3 separate regions of the Homo sapiens genome follow, and regions 1 and 2 are each linked to region 3. Evidence: promoter capture Hi-C in 16 types of primary human blood cells and fetal thymus (Javierre and others, 2016). All regions are on one chromosome and are shown on one strand. The core of a region is centred on a gene start or on the middle of the fragment in contact, and the rest is flanking DNA. Distances in the headings are between cores, read along the strand shown.

Region 1 (4,874 bases), core at 460-2,959, 530 kb before region 3:
ACAGTCCCCAGAGCGTGATGTTCCCCTTCCTGTGTCCATGTGTTCTCATTGTTCAGTTCCCACCTATGAGTGAGAATATGCAGTGTTTGGTTTTTTGTTCTTGTGATAGTTTACTGAGAATGATGATTTCCAATTTCATCCATGTCCCTACAAAGGACATGAACTCATCATTTTTTATGGCTGCATAGTATTCCATGGTGTATATGTGCCACATTTTCTTAATCCAGTCTATCATTGTTGGCCATTTGGGTTGGTTCCAACAAAGATACTCCTCGAGAAGAGCAACTCCATAATTGTCAGATTCACCAAAGTTGAAATGAAGGAAAAAATGTTAAGGGCAGCCAGAGAAAAAGGTCGGGTTACCCTCAAAGGGAAGCCCGTCAGACTAACAGCAGATCTCTCAGCAGAAACTCTACAAAGCCAGAAGAGAGTGGGGGCCAATATTCAACATTCTTAAAGAAAAGAATTTTCAACCCAGAATTTCATTATAAATTATTCATAGAATTCAAAAGCCGAAAAAGTGAAAGCCCCTCCCCGTGTGTATTTACTATTAGTAGTAAACATTTTCTAGGCTTTTTCTTCTGTATATAAACATCTTATATACTTCTTAAAAATAATTAGATCACGTATTTTTTATAGTCTACAACTTTTTAAAGTTTAACCAAATGTCCTATTTCTTTCCACACAGACATCTTTTTATTAGAAAGCACAGTATTCCCTATATGAAAATGCCACAATTTATGTATCCAGTCCTTTATTAACAGGCATTCTCCCTTCAGTTTTTTATTATTAAGGACAATACTGTATTGAACAGCCATATATATGTGTTAACGTTTGAGTAAATACACATACACACACACATATCTTGGTGGCCCTGTGCTAGTATTTCTATATAACAACTTGCTATGTACATTTAAAATTTGGGGTCAAAAAGATATGCACATTTAAGATTTTTGATATTAACAAATTGCTGTCTAAAAGAAAACTGCCGATTTATACTCTTAGTCATTTTCTGGGCAGTCACTACTGATGTTGAGGTGCCAGCAGGGTTGAAGATGGAGCCCCCAGCCATCAGCTGAACCGTGGATGGGGCACAAGTAAAATAGCCTACCTACAAGCATAATTGGAATCAGAACTTACTCTTTAAATCTGTGACTGTGTGCCTCAATTTCTCATACCAGCTTTCTCCATAGGTTGGAAACATTACCACCTAGACTCTTATCATTCCACTTTCACTAATCAGGAGAGATTGCCCTCTTTCCTTAGTTCCAATTTTTAAAATCCTCAGAAAGGAGTCTGAATGGTTCATCGTGGGTCAGACGCCACCTTTTGACCCAGAACACTGCCACCAAGGAATAATGGCAATTTCCATTTAATCTATGTAGATAATGTGGCAGATTTTGTTCGTGGCAGATAAATAATGAAAGCTAATGTTTACAGAGTGCTTAAAATGTACCAGGCATATGCTCACCTAAGCATTTTACATATATGTAGAATGTCTCCCTAGACAGGGTATAGAGGATAAACAGCAAACTTAAAAGAAATTGGAGATGGCTCCAATTGTTGTTGTTACTGCAACAACAGCCATGAGAAATAAAAGCTGAAATAACAGCAGCAAGACATGAGAGAGAAACTTAAATGCAGTAACGATTGTATACTCTACTGAAGTAGAGTATACTTCACCTCACAATAAGTGTTCATTTGGTTATCTAAAACTTAATTTATCAGCTGTTGAATCAGCAGAGGATGTAACCACTTAGATAGCACTATGTGACTCAAATAAATGACAGATTGAGTCTTTCAAGTGTCACAGTATATAATAAGGATCACAAATTTTGTGTGTGTGTTTTTTTATTAAGAGAAAAAAAATGGCTTTGGAGTCAAGTACACTTAGTCTTAAATCCCGGCTCCACTGTTTGCTAGCGATGTAACTGGGTGTATTACCTCATCTGTACAATGGGGATAATACCACCAATCTCATGGTTAAATAAAGTAGTGTGTGTAATTGCTCAGCATAGTAGCATAGTACTTGACACACAGCAAATAGTAGCAGGATCAAATGGGAGAATATATAATTGCCCAGTGGCTGTAAGACAAGAAACTCTTAGTGTTATTACTTCTCTATATTTCTTAGAGATGCCTAATCCCATTTCTTAAAACTGAGAAAATGATCTTATCATTAACCAAGTTTCAGTAAGTAGTAGGATCAAATGGGGTGGTGTACAAATGGGTTTATACATTATGAATAACTTTACTTTGAAAGGCTAATTTCTTGTGTCTTTATTCATAAAAGTTTTCCATTCATCTCTCACTTGTCTGTTTTTAAAAATTCATTCATCGGTGTTTTAAACAAACTGGAGACTAGGGAGTCCCTAAAGGCCTCACTCAGACTTACCTTCTAAAAGCTGGGAAAACTGAATTTTTTTTTATCCAAAATGATGTAAGCTAAAGTACAGGTAGTATATTAACTATTTTAAAAACCTAATGCTTTTTCTGCCTTTTCTTCTACCTCATTGAGTTTAAAGAGTTTTTATTAAAATTTTATTAAGAATTATGAGAAATTATTTAAAAATGTACTGAAAAGGCAATTAAAATTCTCTTCTCACAGATATATGTATATTTTACTAGCCTAACTACGTAATTTTTTAATATAAGAAAGATTTCATTTATCATGAGATCTGAAATTAGAGCTTATAATTATTTAAAGTAGTCAATAATGCTAGCGTTAATGATTTTAAATACAGGTTATAGGTTTCTAAATGACATAATTTACATTTTAATATACAGGTGCTTTTAAGAAGAATTAGGCATTAAGGCTGCCCTTAAGAATGTCTTTCATACTTAATTGTCTAGGGAATAAAAAACATAGGATAGAAAATTGGTTGGATTTCCTGTTTTTTGCTCTTCACTTAAAGATAACATTATTCTCTTTATCTCTGCAAAATAATTACAGATACAAGACCTATAACACAGTTTCTTCTTTTCACAGCTTCGGTGTTTACTTGCCTGGCAATAGCATTGGGATTTTATAGATTCTGGAAGTAGTATTAATGCTCATCCTGCTGTGGCTGTTGGCTTCTTAGAACACCAAACCGGGAGAGATTTACTTTGAACATTGTCAGTTGCAGCAAAAATTTACTACACAAGATTATTCGAAGTGTATACGGACTAAAAGAGGAAGTGTTTTAGAATGAGAAGAGATACTGTGTCTTTATTGTGTGTGTGTGAGTGCAGGTGTGTGTCTTTATTATATTGAAAAGCTGTCACTCAGACCTGGTTTGAGATAGAAGAGCATTTTGTCCTTTTGATAGTTAATAGAAATTGAACCAGAGTTTTCTTATGTTTGCTTGAACAGTTGTGTAAATCATACAGGATTTTGTGGGTATTGGTTGAATATTTGTAAACCATTCCCTAGCCTACATATTTATTACTGAATTAACTTTCCTGATAACCATTGCATAATTACATTTTTCTATAAAATGAAAGATTATTACAACAAAGTTGTGTGGGTTTTCAAAGTGACTTACCATATAGTTGGAGATTGATTTCTTTTTGGTAATGAACTAAAACAATAAATTTTAAAATGATAGGCCAGGCGCGGTGGCTCACACCTGTAATCTCAGCACTTTGGGAGGCTGAGGCGGGTGGATCACTTGAGGTCAGGAGTTCTAGACCAGCCTGGCCAACATGGTGAAACCCCGTCTCTGCTAAAAATACAAAAATTAGCCAGGCATGGTGGCACATGCCTGTAATTCCAGCTACTCGGGAGGCTGAGGCAGGAGAATCTTGCAGTGAGCCGAGATAGCACCACTGCACTCCAGCCTGGGTGACAGAGCAAGACTCCATTACCTAAATAAATAAATGTGTGCTTTAGTGCAAATTACAACACTTAATATGAAATCTGTAGAGTTGCTAAATATTGAGCTCTGATTATTACATGTATTTTTTAAATATTTGATACTCAAAAACCAGTTTATCCCTGCTTCTTAATGTAGTTTAAGTTAACCCATCTTAAATTTATTACATAAAACAAAGCTTTTCTTAATGACTTCAATTCAGCAAACATTGATATCTAGTACCTACTCTCAAGAAACTCATAGGAAAATTTAAATTCGTATTTTGTTTTGTTATTAGATATATTTTTTCTTACAAAGTAATATCTATTAGTAAATCATATGTAATTTCAAAGAAATTTTAAAATATCCTTTTCATCTTAGTTCTTCAGTCTTACCCAGATCAAGAAGACAAGACCAGAAAGTAAACATTTTGAGTTCATAATGCCTTGGTAATAGCTATAAAAGTTTGACAATCATTATTCAAAATAGCCTTGTCATTTGTTTAGCTATAAACAGGGAATCTGCAGTATAGAGCAGTCAAGAGATTGGTCCATATGGTCCAGTGAGTGAGAGTCAGGCTTTCCAACTATATTTTCCTCAAAAATCTAACTGCTGGTTTGTTTTCAAAAGAAAAACCTTGACATTATCCTGTTACATTCTGATTCATTTTTATCTCTATTGCCTAAGAGAGTTCTTAGTATATTATAGATTAATTTTCACTGAGTCAATTAATAAGTTACCATATATATTAAAGTCCACTGTAACAAAGTATACTGCATTTGTTCAGTTAACCAATATGACTGCCTGCTATATGCCAAACAGCATGCTAGTCCCTGTGTGCACAGAGATGAACATGGTTTCATTCTCATTGAATTGACAATCTTAAGGAGAGAGACATAAACAAGTAAATTATTGGTTTGTTAAGATTTAAAATATTCTAAAATATTAAGAGGGAATGCGTCTTTCCTCCATGTGAAGGAAGCTCCAGTAGCATAACACTGTCGTCACTCTTCATCCCCTTATCCACTCTGCCCTAGG
Region 2 (4,855 bases), core at 2,338-4,837, 560 kb before region 3:
CCTCATTCACAGGCTTTAAAACACATCGAGATTCCTTCACATCACCTATTCCAAGAGAAAATGACTGACACATGTGAGTGGTCCAGGCTGCATTCTCTCTCCGTGAAGTCACCAGAGCTATAGTCGTAGTCCTGGGTGATCTCTGGTCATCTGATACAATTGTGCCCAAGCTGGGACCCCAGACCTCTAAACATCAGAGGAAAGAGTACTGGAGCAATGGGGTCCTCAAGAGGATTTGGACATATTAAAATGCCTCAAAAAATTGTATCATTGCTGGAGATGAAATTGGAAACCACTGAAGAAATTGGCAAGTATCTTCGCCTTCCCCTGTAAATTTATCAGCTTACTGTTAAATCAGCACTGCTTATCTCCCACTCACCAACAGTAACTTATCTTGAATTAATGGAAAATAGGAAAATAAGTAGTGGCTTCATACATGTTGTTGGTAAAGAGTGTAAGCTGTGTTTTAAATGGGAGCTTATAAAGGTAAAAAAAAAAAAGTGGTTATTTGCAATGAAAAAAACCAGGACCCACTTCCCTGCTACCCTGTTGGCCTTTGAGATTTAGATAAACTAGGCTGCTTTCAGCAGGGGAGCATTTCTCATGTCCAGGCCATCTCATCAGACATTGGAAGAGGAAAGGATTCATTTGCCTACACTAGCAAATGGCAAATAGTTATTTTCTAGAAAGAAATTCAAACTGATTTTTATCTATTTTAGCTCAAAAAATTTCAAAATCTCCTGCAAGTCCACTGTATGAAATTCAATTTCCTTAGTCTTTTTTATTCTACCTTTTTCATTTTGTTCACCCCAATTCCACCCAGTCTTCATATAATTCCTATGCCCCAGTCTACGAAGTTTCCTCACCAAACTATGACCATATTTTGAACATTCACTCATTCATTCAACACACACTTACCAAAAGCTTGTTATGGCCCAGGCATGATAAGCACTGGAGACACCATGACACATATGGTCTCTACCATAATGGAGAAAACAAATATTAAGTGCAGAGACATGGGAAGGCTGGGTTGCTGTATGAGTCCATAACAAAAGTACCAAATCTGCATGTTGTTTGAGTGGGAATGACTTCTTAAAGAGTTACTCTAAAAAGTCACCATTTAAACTGGAATCTGAAAGATATAAAGGAATTGGCCAGATAAAGAGGAGAAAGAGCTCCAAGTTGAGTAGTGATGCTTTACCATATGCAAAGTCCCTGAGTAGGAAGGAGCAAAGCGATGAGTAAATTGTACTTGCTCACTCCAATCCTCTCTCCTGGACCCCTTGCCTTACAACCTCTACTAACTAAAACCCCTAAGGTTCAAATCCTATCTCTTCTTGATAACCATTATCAAAAAGCATTTAACCTTCAACTGAATTATAGGATTTATTATTTTCTTAACATTTACATGACACTAACCTATTAAAGCTCTGTGTTGAAGGCTATTAAAATGCTTGTTCTATTCTCTCAGTTATTAATATATTACAAATTACTGGAGAGCAGAAATCTTTGCAATCCTTGCGTATCCTAGCAGAAATCCCTGCACGTAGTAAGAACTTGAATAGTTGTTGGATTGAACTGGTTTTCTTTACATTCCTCACATCTAACCTTAAACCTAGCTGGCACTCAGATATTTCTGTAAGTAAAACTGGAAAAATGAAAAATGTTTAAAAGTCCAGAGAAGAATAATATTGTGAAGGGTCCGAGATCTTACCCTATTAGCAGGCTATCAAGTTATCCTGTCATGGTTGCATGGATGCTGGTAGAAGATATGAGACTCCTTGCTAGAAACAAAGAACCCAATTACTGATGGTGCAGCGAGCAGCACGAGTATCGGCATATTTGTGTCAGCTCCCCTTGGCCCCAAGTTCATGGGGATGATGCAGCTGGGGCTACGTAGATGCCTGAGCACGTACAGTACATTGCATTACAGAGAGGAACCCTGACCTATGAGAACACAAATCTTTTATAATAGGCAGTAAGCATGAGGCCTTTTGCTCCAGAGAGAGATGCTATATTTCCTAAGGTTGTTCGTTATACAAAACTGCCACAACAAAAGGCAGAGAAGACCTCCATTTGTAAAACATACAGAAACATGAGACACCCATGGAAATTATTTCCTAACTCTGAGTAAGCAGGTATTATTATTGTTTATTGGGTGCTTGTATATGCCAGGTCCAGTGCTAAGTATTTTAGATGCATCATCTTTTCTATTCCTCTCAACAAACATGAGAAAACATTAACAAATTTATGGAAAAATATTTTTATAAATTAAGATGTTTAACAAAGAAACAATAGCAACCAAGGAGAATCTGAAAATACACAGGAGCATTAGGAGGTCTCAGAGAGGAGCTGTATCTATTAGCTGAATACTATCTGGACTCACTTCATCTGCTATTCCTGCTTTTCCTTCCTATGCTTCTCTGGCCTGCATGGTAGATTATGGATGACCCAAGCTCCTGCACTCACTTGATATAGTTCCAGCCAGCCTCAGAGAATGATTAAGAATCCCTGGATCTAATTGCCACTTCCATCAAAGAGAACATAATCAACACTGTATATGTGTGTTACAGAGAGAGCTTTATGTTAATATAAATAATAGTAACATGAATTAATATATAAAGAGATCCACTTTTTTCATAATAATTCCTTAAGTTAAGTAAAATATTGTGATAACACTTACTGGTCTGTATCTTCCACTAGCCTGTTAGCTCCTCCCAAGCAGGGATCCTATCATTTAACAGAATTATAATCATGTATATAATTATAATTATAATCCTGTATATAAGAATTATACAGAATTATAATTATGTATATACATGTATTAAGGATTTTCCTGTCACTAAGATTATTTTTAAAAATACTAAATTCTTGCATAATATTCCAAATTGGGACACTTCTGCAAGTTATTTAATCACTTTTGAATACTTAGACTATTTTCAATTTTTCACTACTATAAATAACATTGCAATAGTCATCCTTTTCAAAAATCTTAGCTACAGATGTGATTATTTACTATGGATAGCTTCTTAGAAGTGAAACTCTAGGCCAGGTGCGGTGGCTCACAGTTGCCTGTAATCCCAGCACTCTGAGAGACCGAGATGGGTGGATCACCTGAGGTCAGGAGTTCAAGACCAGCCTGACCAGCATGGCGAAACCCCACCTCTACTAAAAATACAAAAATTAGCTGGGTGTGGCAGCGCATGCCTGTAATCCCAGCTACTTGGGAGGCTGAGGCAGGAGAATTGCTTGAACCCGGGAGGCTGAGGTTGCAGTGAGCCAAGATCACACCGTTGCACTCCAGCCTGGGTGATAGAGCAAGACTCTGTCTCAAAAAAAAAAAAAAAAAAGAAGAAGTGAAACTCTGGCTATTTACTTTTTGGAGTTTCATAAATATATTACTAAATTGCTAAAGGCCAAAACTGGAAACACATTCCCCTTGAGAACTGGAACAAGAAAAGGATGCCCATTCTCACCACCCTTATTCAACATAGTACTGGAAGTCCCAGCCAGGGCAATCAGGCAAGAGAAATAAATAAAGATATTCAAATAGGAAGAGAGGAAGGTAAACTATCTCTCTTTGCCAACGATATGATTCTACACCTAGAAAACCCTAAAGACTCTCCCAAAGGCCCCTGGAACTGATAAACAAATTCAGTAAAGTTTCAGGATACACAATCAATGCACAAAAAATCAGTAGCATTTTTATACACCAATAATGTTCTAGCTGAGAATCAAATCAAGAACACAATCCCATTTACAATAGGCACAAAGAAAATGGAATACTCAGGATCATCTCACCAGGGAGGTGAAAGATCTCTGCAAGGAGAACTACAAAACACTACTGAAAGAAAGCAGAGACAACACAAATAAATGGAGAAATATTCCATGCTCATGGGTTGGAAGAATCAATACAGTTAAAATGGCCATACTATCCAAAACAAATTACAGATTTAACGCTATCCTTATCAAAATACCAACATCATTTTTCACAGAACTAGAAAAACCTCTTCTAAAATTAATTTGGAACCAAAAAAGAGCCTGAATAGTCAAAGCAATCTTAAGCAAAAAGAACAAAGCAAGACTTCAAACAATACTATAAGGCTAAACTAATCAAAACAGCATGGTAGTGTTACAAAAACAGACACATAGACCAGTAGAACAGAATAGAGAACCCAGAAATAAAGCCACACACCTAAAACCATCTGGTCTTCAACAAAATCAACAAAAATAAGCAACACGGATAGCATTCCCTATTCAGTAAATGGTGGTGGGATAACTGGCTAGCCATATGCAGAAGAATGAAACTGGACCCCCCTACCTCTCACCATATACAAAAATTACCACAAGCTGGATTAAAGATTTAAAAGTAAGCCCTCAAACTATAAAAACTCTAGAAAAAAAACTAGGAAATACCCTTCTTGACACAGGCTTTGGAAAAGAATTTATAGCTAAGTCCCCAACAGCAATTACAACAAAAATAAAAACTGACAAGTGGGACCTAATTAAAGAGCTTCTGCACAGCAAAAGAAATTACCAACAGAGTAAACAGATAGCCTAAGAATGGGAAGGAGAAAATATTTGCAAACTATGCATCTGACAAAGGTCTAACATCCAGAATCTATAAGGAATTTAAACAAACCAAGAAGTATAAAACAATCCAATTAAAAAATGAGCAAAGGACATGAACACACACTTCTCAAAAGAAGACATACAAATAGCCAACAAACATGAAAAAATCCTCAACACCACTGATCATTAGAGAAATGCAAATCAAAACTACAATGAGATGCCATCTCACACCCATCAGAATGGCAATTATTAAGAAAAAAAATTCACATATTGGTTAGGCTGT
Region 3 (4,693 bases), core at 2,173-4,672:
CTTTTTGTAAGTTTCTACAACCCCCAAGTATAGCTACTCTCTTGCATTTGAAAATAGTCACTCACTTTGCTGAGGGAAAGGACAAATGATGCTGGTTTCATAGGGTAATGTGTTGGTAAGGAATGGGTGGGGCCTAAGGAATCAAGAACATGGACATTTGTTGAACTGCTATTTTGTGTGAGGTGCTTTTATATATACCATCTCACAACAACCTTGAGGAGTTGAGATTATCTCCACTGTGCAGGTGAGAAAAGTAAGATTCAGAGGCATTACTTGCCTGTTATGTCATGTAATTCTCACCCTGAGAACAATTATGACCATTCCCTTTTTTCAGATAAGGAGTTTGAGCCTTTGGAATATGAACTGACTTGTCCAAGCAGTTCAATAGCAATAGGCAGGGCCAGAATTTGAACCTGGCCTCATCTAACTTCAAATCAACTTTGATGTGCAGAACTCCAATAGAAATGAAGAAAGACTTTTACATATGAAGCTTTTCATATTCCATTTATTTTGAATATGATTTTAGGATTTAGATAACCCTGGGGATTAAGAGTTTTTTCGGAATAAGATGTCGATTAAATGTAGAGTACTGTGCAATTGGTGTCCAAGGACTTGTAAGAGTGCTCAGTTGACAGAAGGTGAAAAAAAAAAAAAGTTAGTGCTTTTGGCTGCCAGACCTGGAAGCCTATGGAATGGCCCTGTTGGAAAGGGGATGGGCAGTGCTGACATCCACATCTGGAGTGGAAGAAGCACAAATCAGTGACAGGTCTGCACAATTTTCTGAATGTGAATACCACCAAGAGTAAAACAGACAGTTCGGCCATGGAGGACAAAATGCTGTGTGTAACTCAAATGAAAAGTCCATGATAATTGAGCCAATTTGAATTTAAAATAAAAAGTTTGGCTCAGCTATGTGGGTTTGGGAAGTGGCTACTTCATCTTCTAAATGAAAAATGTTCATCTGGCCTTTTTTCTTTCTTTCTTTTTTATTATACTTTAAGTTCTAGGGTACATGTGCACAATGTGCAGGTTTGTTACGTATGTATACATGTGCCATGTTGGTGTGCTGCACCCATTAACTTGTCATTTACATTAGGTATATCTCCTGACGCTATCCCTCCCCCATCCCCCCACCCCACGACAGGCCCCGGTGTGTGATGTTCCCCACCCTGTGTCCAAGTGTTCTCATTGTTCATTTCCCACCTGTGCAGTGTTTGGTTTTCTGTCCTTGCGATAGTTTGCTCAGAATGATGGTTTCCAGCTTCATCCATGTCCCTACAAAAGACATGAAGTCATCCTTTTTTATGGCTGCATAGTATTCTATGGTGTATATGTGCCACATTTTCTTAATCCAGTGTATCACTGATAGACATTTGGGTTGGTCCCAAGTCTTTGCTATGTGAATAATAGTCTTTGCTATGTGCCACAATAAACATACGTGTGCACGTGTCTTTATAGCAGCAAGATTTATAATACTTTGGGTATATACCCAGTAATGGGATGGCTGGTTCAAATGGTATTTCTAGTTCTAGATCCTTGAGGAATCGCCACACTGTCTTCCACAATGGTTGAACTAGTTTACAGTCCCACCAACAGTATAAAAGTGTTCCTATTTCTCCACATGCTCTCCAGCACCTGTTGTTTCCTGACTTTTTAATGATCGTCATTCTAACTGGTGTGAGATGGTATCTCATTGCGGTTTTGATTTGTATTTCTCTGATGGCCCATCTGGCCTTTTTTCTTTGGTAAGGCTGTGCCTTCATGGTGTTCAAAAATGGTTTCGCTACATCTACAAAGTGAGGCTTAATAAAAAGAGTTTTGAAAGAGATGGTCTATGTCTCTCCTATGCAAGCTCTGTATCGAAACTAGAGTAACTTATTTAGAGAACACTTTATCACACACACAGTGTTTTCATATAGAGACAGTCCCCAACTTATGATGGTTCAACTTTATGATTTTCCAACTTGAATCAGTGTATTACATGCATTTTAACCTACAATATTTTCAACTTACAATGTGTTTATCAGGATGTTGTTGCTCTATCACAAATTGAGAAGCATCTATGATCTCACTTAATGCTCATGAACACCCTATGATCCAGAAGACACGTAAGGGATATAGTCACCTTTTTGTGTTTCAGAGAAGTAAGGGTGAATACTCATCCAGGCTATGGAACAATGTATCATTTAAATATCACAAGTGCCCTGTGGGGAGGGCAACTTTACCTGCATTTAACATGAGTAAGCTAAACAGAGAGAGTACGCTGGTTTGTCTAAAGCCATGCACTCAGCAGAGCAAGGATTTCAACCTAAGTCATGAGGTTATTGAGTGGTGGCTAAGACCAGAACCCAAGCCTCTTCTGAATCTCTTGTGAAAATGACCTTATTGCTCATTTTCTCTATCTATCCCAAAGAGGATTGCCCAGGTGAAATTAGTTTTAAGTGAACTTCATGATGATCCCTGAAATGCAATGAAAATTCCAGGGATAACCTAAATGGTATGACAGGTAGGGGAGAGGTTCCAATCCATCTTTTATTCTAACATGCTGAGAGTTTTATACACACACAGTGTTCTCAAGTAACAGGGGGCTTAGCCAGATCGACTCCTTTCTCCATTGCCTCCTGCTATGTGTTAATAAAAGATGGGCCACTGCTGGCCTCAATTTACTGTTAGCCAATTGTTACTCGTAACAATCAAGTGGCAAACAGTCAAGAAGAAAGAGCACTGGGCTTGAGAATCCTGGGAAAACTCAGGTTAGAATCTTAGGATCAGGTCTAGAGCTTTAAGAAATACTCATTTTCCTTCCCCATCTTAATAGATGAGAAAGGCAAGGGCAAGAGAGGACGCAAGTATTGTCAAGGGCTTAGGAATGGCTTTGGAGTCAGAATGGGCTAGATCTGACTTTGGCCAACTCACTGAACCTCCCTGAGGTGCAGTGTCCACGTTTGTTGAATGGCGATAACATGTAATTCACAGGGCTGTTGTTCAAGGATTAAATGAGATAATAGATGGACAGCGCCTGGCAGAAGCAAGCGCCCAGAAGCTGGTGGGTGTTGTTATACAGCTGGACTGAAACCCACGTCTCTAGACTCCTGCCTTCTTGCCTCAGGAGAGGCACCACCGCAAGTACCTGCAGAAGCCTATCAAGCGCTGCAGCGGCCTCATGGGCCTGAACTGGAGTTTGAGACCAGCCATCTCTTCCTCACCCCTTGCGGTTAGAGGAGTCAAGAGAAACACCACGGGGCAAAGGGAAACGAAGGAGTTAAGGCGTTGAGCTTCAGAAAGCTCAGAAAACTAAAGCGACCCCCCACTCCTCCAAGCCAGGCTAAGTAAGCCCCTCCCCTCTACCACCGGGACGGTCGCCGCGCGCTCCCTCCCTCCGCCCCTTGCTTACAAGACCTAATGAGCTCCCCCGGGAGGCAGCGCAGCGAGCCAGGCCCGGAACTAGTAGGCTGCGCCGCGCGCGCCGCGCCGGGGCGGGAGCTGGGTCTGGGCGGCGGGCAGGAGCTGGCGGGGGCGCACGGGCAGCGCTGCGGACAGCCCGGGAGCCGCGGCGATGGCGGTGCAGGCGGCGCTCCTCAGCACGCACCCTTTCGTGCCCTTCGGCTTCGGGGGCTCCCCGGACGGGCTAGGGGGCGCCTTCGGAGCCCTGGACAAGGGCTGCTGTTTCGAGGACGATGAGACCGGGGCTCCGGCGGGTGCGCTGCTGTCGGGAGCCGAAGGAGGGGACGTGCGCGAGGCCACCCGCGATCTACTCAGCTTCATTGACTCGGCGTCCAGCAACATCAAGCTGGCGCTGGACAAGCCGGGCAAGTCGAAGCGGAAGGTGAACCACCGCAAGTACCTGCAGAAGCAGATCAAGCGCTGCAGCGGCCTCATGGGCGCCGCGCCCCCCGGCCCGCCCTCCCCGAGCGCCGCCGACACGCCAGCCAAACGGCCGCTGGCCGCCCCTAGCGCCCCGACAGTCGCGGCCCCGGCCCACGGCAAGGCTGCCCCCCGGCGGGAGGCGTCGCAGGCCGCCGCGGCCGCCAGCTTGCAAAGCCGAAGTCTGGCCGCGCTCTTCGACTCGCTGCGCCACGTCCCCGGGGGTGCCGAGCCGGCGGGGGGTGAGGTGGCTGCGCCGGCGGCCGGGCTAGGAGGTGCGGGCACTGGGGGCGCGGGAGGGGACGTGGCAGGCCCCGCGGGGGCCACGGCGATCCCAGGGGCCAGGAAGGTCCCGCTGCGGGCACGCAATCTGCCTCCGTCCTTCTTCACGGAGCCGTCCCGGGCAGGCGGCGGCGGGTGTGGCCCGTCGGGGCCGGACGTGAGCTTGGGCGACCTGGAGAAGGGCGCGGAGGCCGTGGAGTTCTTTGAGCTGCTGGGGCCCGACTACGGCGCCGGCACGGAGGCGGCAGTCTTGCTTGCCGCCGAGCCTCTCGACGTGTTCCCCGCCGGAGCCTCCGTACTGCGGGGACCCCCGGAGCTGGAGCCCGGCCTCTTTGAGCCGCCGCCGGCAGTGGTGGGAAACCTACTGTACCCCGAGCCCTGGAGCGTCCCGGGCTGCTCCCCGACCAAAAAGAGCCCCCTGACTGCCCCCCGCGGCGGCTTGACCTTGAACGAGCCCTTGAGCCCCCTGTACCCCGCCGCTGCGGATTCTCCCGGCGGGGAGGACGGGCGGGGCCATTTGGCCTCTTTCGCCCCCTTCTTTCCAGAC

Evidence for each region. Contacts are between HindIII fragments. The CHiCAGO score rates a contact against its expected background, and 5 or more counts as called.
Region 1: a contact is called between a fragment that was not itself captured here and the fragment with the promoter of FAM181B in region 3, in 4 of 17 cell types (naive CD4 T cells, naive CD8 T cells, total CD4 T cells and 1 more). The highest score is 10.9, in naive CD4 T cells.
Region 2: a fragment that was not itself captured here is called in contact with the fragment with the promoter of FAM181B in region 3 in 2 of 17 cell types (naive CD4 T cells and activated CD4 T cells); the score reaches 5.7 in naive CD4 T cells.

What each region holds. Positions count from the first base shown.
Region 1 is chr11:83,260,082-83,264,955 of GRCh38, reverse strand. CCDC90B (coiled-coil domain containing 90B) reads left to right here. Exons shown (of 9, transcript NM_021825.5): 9 at 2,990-4,874. The coding sequence ends at 3,045. It also overlaps a transcript of ANKRD42 not described here. Among named protein-coding and RNA genes, the nearest start is that of CCDC90B-AS1, 24 kb to the left of the region's middle. The HindIII fragment of the contact is 4,657 bases long and covers 1-4,037 here.
Region 2 is chr11:83,288,215-83,293,069 of GRCh38, reverse strand. The region is part of intron 1 of CCDC90B-AS1 (CCDC90B antisense RNA 1); the gene reads right to left. Among named protein-coding and RNA genes, the nearest start is that of CCDC90B, 4.3 kb to the right of the region's middle. The HindIII fragment of the contact is 5,322 bases long and covers 927-4,855 here.
Region 3 is chr11:82,732,593-82,737,285 of GRCh38, reverse strand. It overlaps FAM181B (family with sequence similarity 181 member B), which reads left to right and starts at 3,422. Exons shown (of 1, transcript NM_175885.4): 1 at 3,422-4,693. The coding sequence starts at 3,557. The HindIII fragment of the contact is 9,040 bases long and covers 493-4,693 here.